2 separate regions of the Homo sapiens genome follow, and region 2 is linked to region 1. Evidence: promoter capture Hi-C in 16 types of primary human blood cells and fetal thymus (Javierre and others, 2016). All regions are on one chromosome and are shown on one strand. Each heading gives the region's core, a stretch centred on a gene start or on the middle of the fragment in contact. The rest is flanking DNA. Distances are from core to core; before and after follow the strand shown.

Evidence for each region. Contacts are between HindIII fragments. The CHiCAGO score rates a contact against its expected background, and 5 or more counts as called.
Region 2: a contact is called between a fragment that was not itself captured here and the fragment with the promoter of PTBP2 in region 1, in 1 of 17 cell types (total B cells). The highest score is 5.0, in total B cells.

The regions. Positions count from the first base shown.
Region 1 is chr1:96,719,768-96,724,555 of GRCh38, forward strand. It overlaps PTBP2 (polypyrimidine tract binding protein 2), which reads left to right and starts at 2,017. Exons shown (of 14, transcript NM_021190.4): 1 at 2,017-2,105; 2 at 3,797-3,827. The coding sequence starts at 2,098. RefSeq lists silencers at 1,783-1,982, 2,213-2,492. The HindIII fragment of the contact is 2,234 bases long and covers 1-2,078 here.
Region 2 is chr1:98,059,063-98,063,850 of GRCh38, forward strand. All of the region lies in intron 1 of LOC124900404 (a long non-coding RNA gene), which reads left to right. Among named protein-coding and RNA genes, the nearest start is that of MIR137HG, 12 kb to the left of the region's middle. The HindIII fragment of the contact is 157 bases long and covers 1,874-2,030 here.

The DNA.
Region 1 (4,788 bases), core at 767-3,266:
TATGAAACCACAAATATGTGAAAAGTGATTATTAGTGGCACTAATAACAGATCCTTTATTTTAAGGTTTAAGGTGAAGTGGTTATTGTAGGAAATTTGATATGTGGTTTTTTTTTTTTTTTTTTTTTTTGAGACAGAGTTTCGCTCTTGTTGCCCAGGCTGGAGTGCAATGGCGCGATCTTGACTCACCGCAACCTCGGCCTCCCAGGTTTAAGCGATTCTCCTGCCTCAGCCTCCCGAGTAGCTGGGATTACAGACATGCACCACCACCCCGGCTAATTTTGTATTTTTAGAAGAGACGGGGTTTCTCCATGTTGGTCAGGCTGGTCTTGAACTCCCGACCTCAGGTGATCTGCTTGCCTCGGCCTCCCAAAATGCTGGGATTACAGGCGTGAGCCACCGTGCCCGGCCTTTTTTTTTTTTTTTTTTAACGATTGACAATCCCATAGGCAAATCAAGAATTTGTAAAAATTTGGGTGCTTTGAAGAGTTCTATAGCAAAGTGTTTGGACAAGATGCTCTTTAAGGGTCTATCCAATTTAAAAGTAATATTATTTATGGCCGGGCACGGTGGCTCACGCCTGTAATCCCAACACTTTGGGAGGCTGAGGAGGGCAGATCACCTGAGGTCAGGAGTTCGAGACCAACCTGACCAACATGGAGAAACCCTGTCTCTACTAAAAATACAAAGTTAGCTGGGCGTGGTGGCGCGTGCCTGTAATCCCAGCTACTCGGGAGGCTGAGGCAGGAGAATCGCTTGAACCAGGGAGGCCGAGGTTGCAGTGAGCCGAGATTGCGCCATTGCACTTCAGCCTGGGCAACAAGAGCGAGACTGGGTCTCAAAAAAAAAAATTCTAAAAATTATACACAATATCATTTAGTATATGAAATTCCAATTAGCAAAGGATAAGAGCTTTGCCTGAAGGAGACACAGAAAAACCCAGAGTGAGTATTGAGAGTAACTGGAGGGACACAGGGAGTATTTGTCATTTTTCAGAATTAGAAGTGCATTTGTCCTTGTGTGTGTTGGGGGTGGAGGTGAAGGGTGCAGGAGAAGGATGGGTACTGGCAAAGTCGCTACTCACTGAGCAAATTTTCAAGCGGGTGCCTTTCCCAATTTTGTTGAGCCTCTGATAAAAACACGTTGAAGTAAAATGTCCACTATAGTATCAAGTAAAAATTGAGACCGTAAGATATAGCAAAGGGAGTCAATTTGCATAGCCCATTTTAATGCTTCTACTTTCTCTAACCAATCTGAAGACTCAGTTGTTCCCACTCCCATCTCCACTTTCCCTTTCATGCCTCCAAATGTTAAACTCCAACTATTGTAGCATTTTAACACATGGCTCCATTTGTGTCTATTTCCACCTAGCGTATTGTGAATATTTTCTACAGGCGCACACTAATCACCAACTGAAGTGAGAATCACATTTTCCTCCACTTGGCTTGGTACTACAGGTCTTGAAGCAAAAGCCTGTATTTCAGTCTGAGGAGTTCTACTTGCTTGAGAAAGTACTGTTGTTACCAAGTGGTCTCGTTCAGTGGGGTAAAGATTTTTGTTTTAGAGGCTGGAGCCGGTCTGCAAATAAAAGATGGCTTAGGAGAAAAGCTATCCAATGTTTTTTCCTTGGCCCGCATAGGTTGACGGTAGCCAAGCTGGTACTTGGCTTGGAGTGAAAAGTGGAGGCTGCCTGGGGGCGTCCTGCAGTCAGGGCAGAGAGAGTGTGGAGAGCTGTTGGGAGGTGTCCCACCCACGCCCCCACAAGGAGGGGAAACCAGGTCGCCGCGGTCTGCAGCAGAACGCCAGGTTCCAGAGGACGGCAGGCGGAGGGCGGAGGGAGAAAGGCGCGCGAAGGCGCGGAGGAGGCGTCGGCTGCGGCGCCCACTCCCCCTAGTCCCAGCGCCCTGCCGCTCGCCTCCCGCTGCCGGGCGCCGGCGCGCTCGGCTCTTTCCGCCGCCGCCGCTGCCGCGCGGTGGCCCGTGCGCCTCGGCACCTTCGGCAATTTCCGTCGGGCCCCAGCCGCCATTTTCTCGCCGCTTGTGTGGCTCGCTGGCTGCGTGGCTCGGTTCTTGTGAGCGAAGCTTTGTCCGGTTCGGCAATGGACGGGTATGTAATCGGGCCGGCGAGAAGGTGTGTGTGAGAGAGGAGTTGGACCGTCCTTCGGCCCGGTCCCGGGCCGGGGAGAAACCCTCCCGCGGCCCCTCCCAGGGCTGGGCTGCCGTTACCCAACCCCCGCCCCATCGCACACACCCCTCCCTTTGCTTCCCCCGGCGGGCTTTGGTCGAGAAAATGAGAAGAAAGCGGGCTTGGAGGCTGGGGAGGCATAGGGGCGATGGCGGGGGTGAGGATCCCGGAGTGGGAGCGGGCACCGGCTTGGCGGCGGGGGATGGGGTGGGAACCCCATAACGTCTCCCCGGTCTGTCCCTGCCCCCTCTAGGAGCCATTTCGATCCGTACCTTGGGACCCGACCCTTGGGTTAGCGGTGCCTGTGAGAGCGAGTGGGATGGGCAGAGACAGGCCTTTGGATTGGGGGAGCCTCTAGGGGAAGAGGAGAGAGGCACCCCATGTGGACCCCAGCCATGAGCAACCTCTCCGGCCTCGCCCGGCCCTCCGTGGTCGGGAGAGATGCCGGTGGCGGGAGCTCCGGGGAAAGCCTAGTGGGAGCCGCTGGGGAAGGGGGGAGGGCGTGCGGCGGCGGGAGGAAGGGGGAGGGCAGATGTCATACTCCTTTGTTTTCATTTGAGTCTGGTAGTGGGGGCGGGAGGGAGGAAAAAATGCCTTTTTGTGGGGACTGAAAACATTCAAGGCTTGGCAAAAGGGCCCAGAAATTAAATCATCTAAAAAACGAAGTGTTTGAAGCCGACATCAGTCACATGGGCAAAGGCCAACAGCAATGGCAGAAACAAGAGCAGATAGTCAACAAAGGGCTATCTCTTTAGCTACTTTGGTCAGTTTCTGGAAAAACGACTATAAAAACCCAGAACCATGCTGCATCTTTGCGAACCTGAGTCAAGACGGAATGCTGAGTGAGGTGAGAGGCAAGACTGTGAAATGGTAGGGACCGATGTCTCGCTCATATGCTTCACACCTGAAAAGACTCAGTAATTTAACTCAATGTTAGAAAGGGGGCACGCTTAAGGTCAAAAATACAGCAGTATGCAGCTCTTTTGGGAGTGTAAACATAGTATCATTTAACAAGTACATTTATTAAAATCAGTGAGTATTTGAAGAATCAACAATTTGGTTAAGCGCCTAGAGTTTGGTGTGTTTTAAAAGGTACTAAAAACAAGATTTTATAAAAGTTAACACAGTCTCACAGAATTCAAATCATCCTAGATGTTACCTAAAGATTATTTTCCAGATGAAACAAATCCAGAGAAGTTCAGTATTCCCCCCAGATCAACACGGAAATTGATGTCAAAACTTGCACTAGAATTCATGTTTCCTGATTCCTGGTTCCTGTGGAGACTACTAAAGAGTTTAAGCGTTAAATTATTAATCTCAGTATACTGGCATTGTAGAAATGGCATAGTGTTTTGGGTTTTGTTCTTTTTGGCTATTGAATGTGTTGTTAAAAAATACCACAAGTTGTCTCACATTTGAAAGTTACTTTTAGAAAACCAGGTTGGTAACAGTACAGGTAAGTCACGGATCATCTGTGGTATTTTTTATCCCCATCTGTGTGTGAGTGGCTGGAAGATTTATGAATGATGGACTATCCTAAAAAGTTTTAGAGCCAAAGAGTGAGTGATTAGAAGAATAACAGGAGGTTGAAACTACTTATTTTTTCTTTGCAGAATCGTCACTGAGGTTGCAGTTGGCGTGAAGGTAGGAAAATACTATGTTTGAAACTGGGATTGTTGGATCTATTATCATAATTACTGGAAAATTTTAGCTTTTGCTTTTGAAAACTATAACGTAGCTAACAAAACCCAAGTGTAAAATGTTTCCTTTCATTTGTAAAGTTGGACCATATAAACAGTTTGTAATCACCATAAGTTTTTCTAGAACTGTCAGTCTGTAAGAATAACCTTTTAAAGTAAGTATGAATGATCAAGAAATTGAAAATGCTTTCACACATGGCTTCTTGTAATATAAAACGATACCCCAATTTTCTGAGGGGAAATAATGATTTTAAATGGATGGTAAGTGGTTTGACCTATATCTTATAATTTTGTTAATCTAAGTTTTTTGTTTTTTATTACTTTTTGTCATGAAAATGAATATATTTTGGTTAATAATAAAGCACATTAGAAATGAATTACACTGATCCTTAAAAAGGAAGTTGTTGAGGCAGTTAGCTTCAAATTTGAATTAGAAGTTAAGAGCTGGTTTGTCTATTAAAGAAAGTCTTTATGGTAGAGATCCTTTGGAATCCTTCCTTTTTGGCTAAGAAAACTACTCATCGTTTAAACTTTAGTTCTAATGCTTAACATTTTCTTGAGTACTTGCAACTTTTAATGTCATGATGTATTGTAATTTTTTTTTGTTTTTTGTTTTTTTGAGACGGAGCCTCACTCTGTTGCCCAGGCTGGATGCAGTGGCACGATCTTGGCCCACTGCAACCTCTGCCTCCTGGGTTCAAGCAGTTCTCCTGCCTCAGCCTCCTGAGTAGCTGGGATTACAGGTGCGCACCACCACGCCCAGCTAATTTGTATTTTTAGTAGAAATGGCATTTCACCCTGTTGGTCAGGCTGGTCTCAAACTCCTGACCTCATGATCTGCCTGCCTCTTATGATCTGCCTGCCTTGACCTCCCAAAGTGCTGGGATTACAAGTGTGAGCCACCG
Region 2 (4,788 bases), core at 702-3,201, 1.3 Mb after region 1:
CTTTTTCAACTTTTTTTTGCCCTGAGGCCGGCTGAAGAACTAATAGCATCCTCTCCCACCATGGTCACTGAAAAAAGTAGCAAATCTTAAATAAAGGAAAACATGAGATCTGAGATCTTTTCGATCTGCCTTAAGATTGGACAGAGTTTACGGAATAATTATGTTGAAGCTCCCAAATAATGTGAATGAGGTTATCTTTCTGAAGGGGTGAAAGGGTCTTTGTGACCCACATTCCTTTTGGAGCTAACCTGCTAAAAAAAGAAAAGCAGACAGACAGAAAGAGGAAAACAAATCCTATTTGAGATGGAGGTTGAGTGACAAGAGAAACTTTTAGCCTTCAGATATGTTTGCTCTGCACCAGGTACATAATAATATGGTTTTTGGATCTTTGAATCCATACTTAGCTAGGCATTAAATTCTAGGAATAATCTGTTTATGGAAAATAAAGCCATTTCTATTTGAAAACAAATGGAACAAAATAATTATTTTTCCCCAAATGTGTACCCTTTTAATTGATCAAATGCATCCAGGAAATTCTGCTGGCAATTTGAACACTGTAGGTGTTGTTGCAGCTCTAAATTTGTCTGCAAGAGGAATTGTAAATGGTATTTACCTTTTAATTAAACAAAGCATCTTGCAAATTAAACACATGTTCTTGCACATCAAAATTTAGTTAACATCCTTTTCATTGTTCATCCTGCTGACACTCTGACAGCATCGTGAGTCCACACACAATATAGAGTCATGCTGCTCCCCCCTTCCCTGCACTTTGCATTCCTCAGAGTAGATGATATCACATGCTAGAGTACCCTCTGTAACTGACTTCTAATAACTGAGCAGCTTTTCCCATTTAATATACTTAATATTGTGTAAAATATGGGACTGCATTGGTGTGTCCAGAACCTGGAAAGCTTTGGACACTGATCTGACATATGTCTTATAATCTTACACTGAAAATTTGACAGTGAATGACAGAACACCTTAGAGGAATATAAGAAACTGATAAAGGCAGAAGCACTGCACGTGAATGCAGAGTATGGTTTCTAATAGCTACATACTTTTTTACATGCATACCAGTAATTTGACATTTATAATTCACGGTGGAGCTGAATTTCTGTCATTTTCTTACTGTCAAGTCCTCCACATTTTGAAATAAATGTCCCTTCTAATTATTATACGAATTTGAACTCCAACATTCAATTTTTTCCCCTGTCCCTTATAATGGAGTACTACATTTAGCTGAAGTCTGATTTGCAAGACCAGTTAGGAAGTGTGATCATTTCAAACGTATTCCCACAAACTATACATGGGAACCCCTTTCTTGATTGTAGTCTGTCTTACTTATAAAAGTACAGTTTAAAACCCATCTATCAGTACTATTTCTAAGAAAATAAGGTTGCTAATGGCAGAATGAAACTGAGATAATTGGGATATGGTCTTAATGGAACAAAAGTCAGAGAGAGGTTTTTCAATAAAGCAAAATTGTCGTTAACGACTGTCATTCAGTTGCACCGGTGCTCATTAATCTCTTTTATTTCTGTTTATTTATGGTTTATATAATTGAAATAAAGTCATTTGCTTAGAACATTGCCAAAGGAGAAATGTTTCCTGCTTTGAAAAGAGACAACTCAGAATAATAGTTAAATAAAATCCAGGGTGAAATGAAGTCTTCCTTAGCATTATGGTACCTCTGAGATTTTCCTTTTAAAAGTTGAGGGATTATTTTCACTGTTAGTGTTTACTTTTAAGGTTCAGGCAGCTAGCATGTTGAAGAGATGCTACTCATGTCAGAAATTGCTTTGAGGCACAGAAATGATTGGTATGGATATGGGTGGAAGAGAGGGAGGGCAGCCCTTTAGTGTCATCTGAAAAAAGCTTTCGTTCAAAAAAATAAAATACCTCATCCTAACCAAACTTTAAAAAACAGAAGTAAATGATAAAAGTACACTTTTTGAAAATACTGACTTTTATGTTTTAAATAGGTATTTAATTATTTTCAGTGGGATGATTGTTGTTTGTTGATTAAAATAAGCTTTTATGCAAAAAAATAGGATGTCCCTTTTTGATTTCAAAAAATGAACAGAATGTGGATGATGAACACACAAATAGGACTTAGAATCATCAAACTAATTTCCCTAGATTTAGATAAGACCAAAGATTAGAGACTTTGGTTAGTCACTAAATTTTAAAATATTATTTGCATTTATACCAGCATAACTTCTGTTGCCTTGTTTAAACATTTCACAATTTAACTGGATACAATTTTCCAACTATATAGAAAATCTATGCCAGCCAACAAGTTTCAGAAATATCGATTGGAATTTTCACTGATGTGTAAAATGTGCCTGAACTCTAGATGTAAGATTTTCCTTTTGAAAAAAAAATTTGAAGTTTGATATTGATCCTTGTGCCACTTGGTTTTCTCTAGGCTTATACAAGATAAAGCAATGATTAAACTCTTTGTAGAACCATCCAATGTGTATAATTTTTACAGTTGATATGTAAGACTTCTTTTAGAGTAATTTTTATGATATATTTAATAATGTGATCCCAAGATATTTTGTATATCAATTTCCAGAAAGATAAATGAGAATGTTTTTTAAAAATAAGCAGAACTTTCATCATTGCTGACAAAATGGCCGGTGCCTCTTTAGTTCTTGCTAAATGCCAGTCACTGTGCTGAATATAGGACACATCTTATCCCGTTGCATCTTACAGCAACCCCACATGAAATTACTCTGAGAGAACTAAGACTACAGAGACTGAAATGCCTTGTTCAAAGTCTCCCATCTAGTAAAAAAAAGTAGAGACTGGTTTCAAATCAAGTTCTGATTTATGAGGGAAGGCTCTTATATACAACGCAGTGTGGCTTTTTCACAATTCTCATTTATGGAACACTTACCATGTGTCAGATGCTGTACTTAATACTTTACAGGTTGAAAATGTATCTTGTTTAGCACCAAATCTAAATCATAGATCTAAGACAAAGATTTTGACTAAAAGGCACTTCTGAGCTTAGGCTAAGTGTAGAAGTGGAAGGGTGTACAGGTAGGTTCAACCTAAAATGAAACAGCAAAGTGGGCCAATGTGTCATCAACTCCTTTTCCTATCTACTTCCATTCTTTTCCTCAAGTTTGCTTCTCATTTCTATAGAACCAACTCATGGAAGAAGGGACTCCTGGCAAAATTTGTGTCTGACTAGGCATGTCTGAAAAACTAAACAGAAGTCAAGCTTTAAAGAACAAGATTCATTTGTGCATTCATTCATTCCTTTATTTTATTTTATTTTTGAGATGGAGTCTTGCTTTGTCACCAGGCTGGAGTGCAGTGGCGTGATATTGGCTCACTGCAATCTTCGCTTCCCGGGTTCAAGCAATTCTCCTGCCTCAGCCTCCCAAGTAGCTGGGACTACAGGTGCGCACCACCATGCCCAGCTAATTTTTGTATTTTTAGTAGAGACGGGGTTTCACCATGTTGGCCAGGATGGTCTCAATCTCTTGACCTCATGATCTTCCCACCTCAGCCTCCCAAAGTGCTGGGGTTACACATGTGAGCCACTGGGCCTGGCCTCATTCCTTCATTTTAAAGTATGAAAGTGATGTGAGGAACAGAGAAAATCCTATAAATTACATAGTTCAAGGATGGGAAATTGGAAGCCCTCCAAATTGGGCTCACATATGTGGTTCCCCCCCACCAATATATTATATTTCAAAAAATTGAATTTGAATGCCTTTAGCTGGGGCATAGAGTATCCAGTACAGCATGATCCCTCACCACTCTTAGCAATTCTCATCCTCGTTTCACATATTCTCCACTTGGTTCTTAAAATCATCCGGAGTTCATGACTATGTTGGAGATATCCCAATACTGAAAGTTTTTGAGAAGGTTAACTCAGAATAAGATTATTTCTCCAAGTCAATGCTGTCTTTTTCTTTTCAATGCCTAGTTCAGTGCTTGGTGGATAGGAAGCTCAATAACTAGTTATTGAATGAATGAATGAATGAATGAGACAGATTGACTCCTAGCATCCAAGTGTCCTCTATCCCAATCCAGTGTTTGTTTCATTTTGTCACTTAATCCTCAGGAGGAGTGGGGCAACGTCTCTACTTTTTTGTGCAGGAAATTTAGCTCTATCTTTCAGCACATGATTGTACTCTTTTTGCCTAAATCAAATGAGGCCGAAACTAACAGCAGTTCAGCCAAAGGAGATTCATTCAAAGGTTGGCTTCAAATTGAAATCATGTAAAAACATAACAACCAAATGTACAGTACTTTCCAGAAGACCTAGAAAATCACACTTACTTCCAATCAAGTCATAATTCTTGATGTAGTACATTATCTTCATCCCTGTGATTGAAAGGGACAGAGACGCGTCAGACAAAGTAGATATCTCTGCCAGACATATGGAGAATGTTTCTGGAGTTTGTAGAAACCTTTAGATTGAACCAATTTTATGTCCAAACATTCAGAAGAAAAAAGTGAATAACTGGGCCATTTATCTTTCTCTATGATTAATCATGCTATACCCATATCTGGCCATTTAGAAGAAAAACTATTTCTTTATTCAGCATTCATGTGTATATATACTGTGATATAGCTTAGGGCTGATTCTTCTGTTATTGTTATTGTGTGTCAGCCATATGACTACTCTAGAGAACCTTGGGTTGCTCATTAGGATAATTGTGTAGAGTAATAGAAAGTTGGTAATTTTGATCAGGAAATCAAGTGTTTTTAAGGCAGAAACCATGTTGCCACAGGAATGATAGATAAACTTGTTGGGCATGTCAG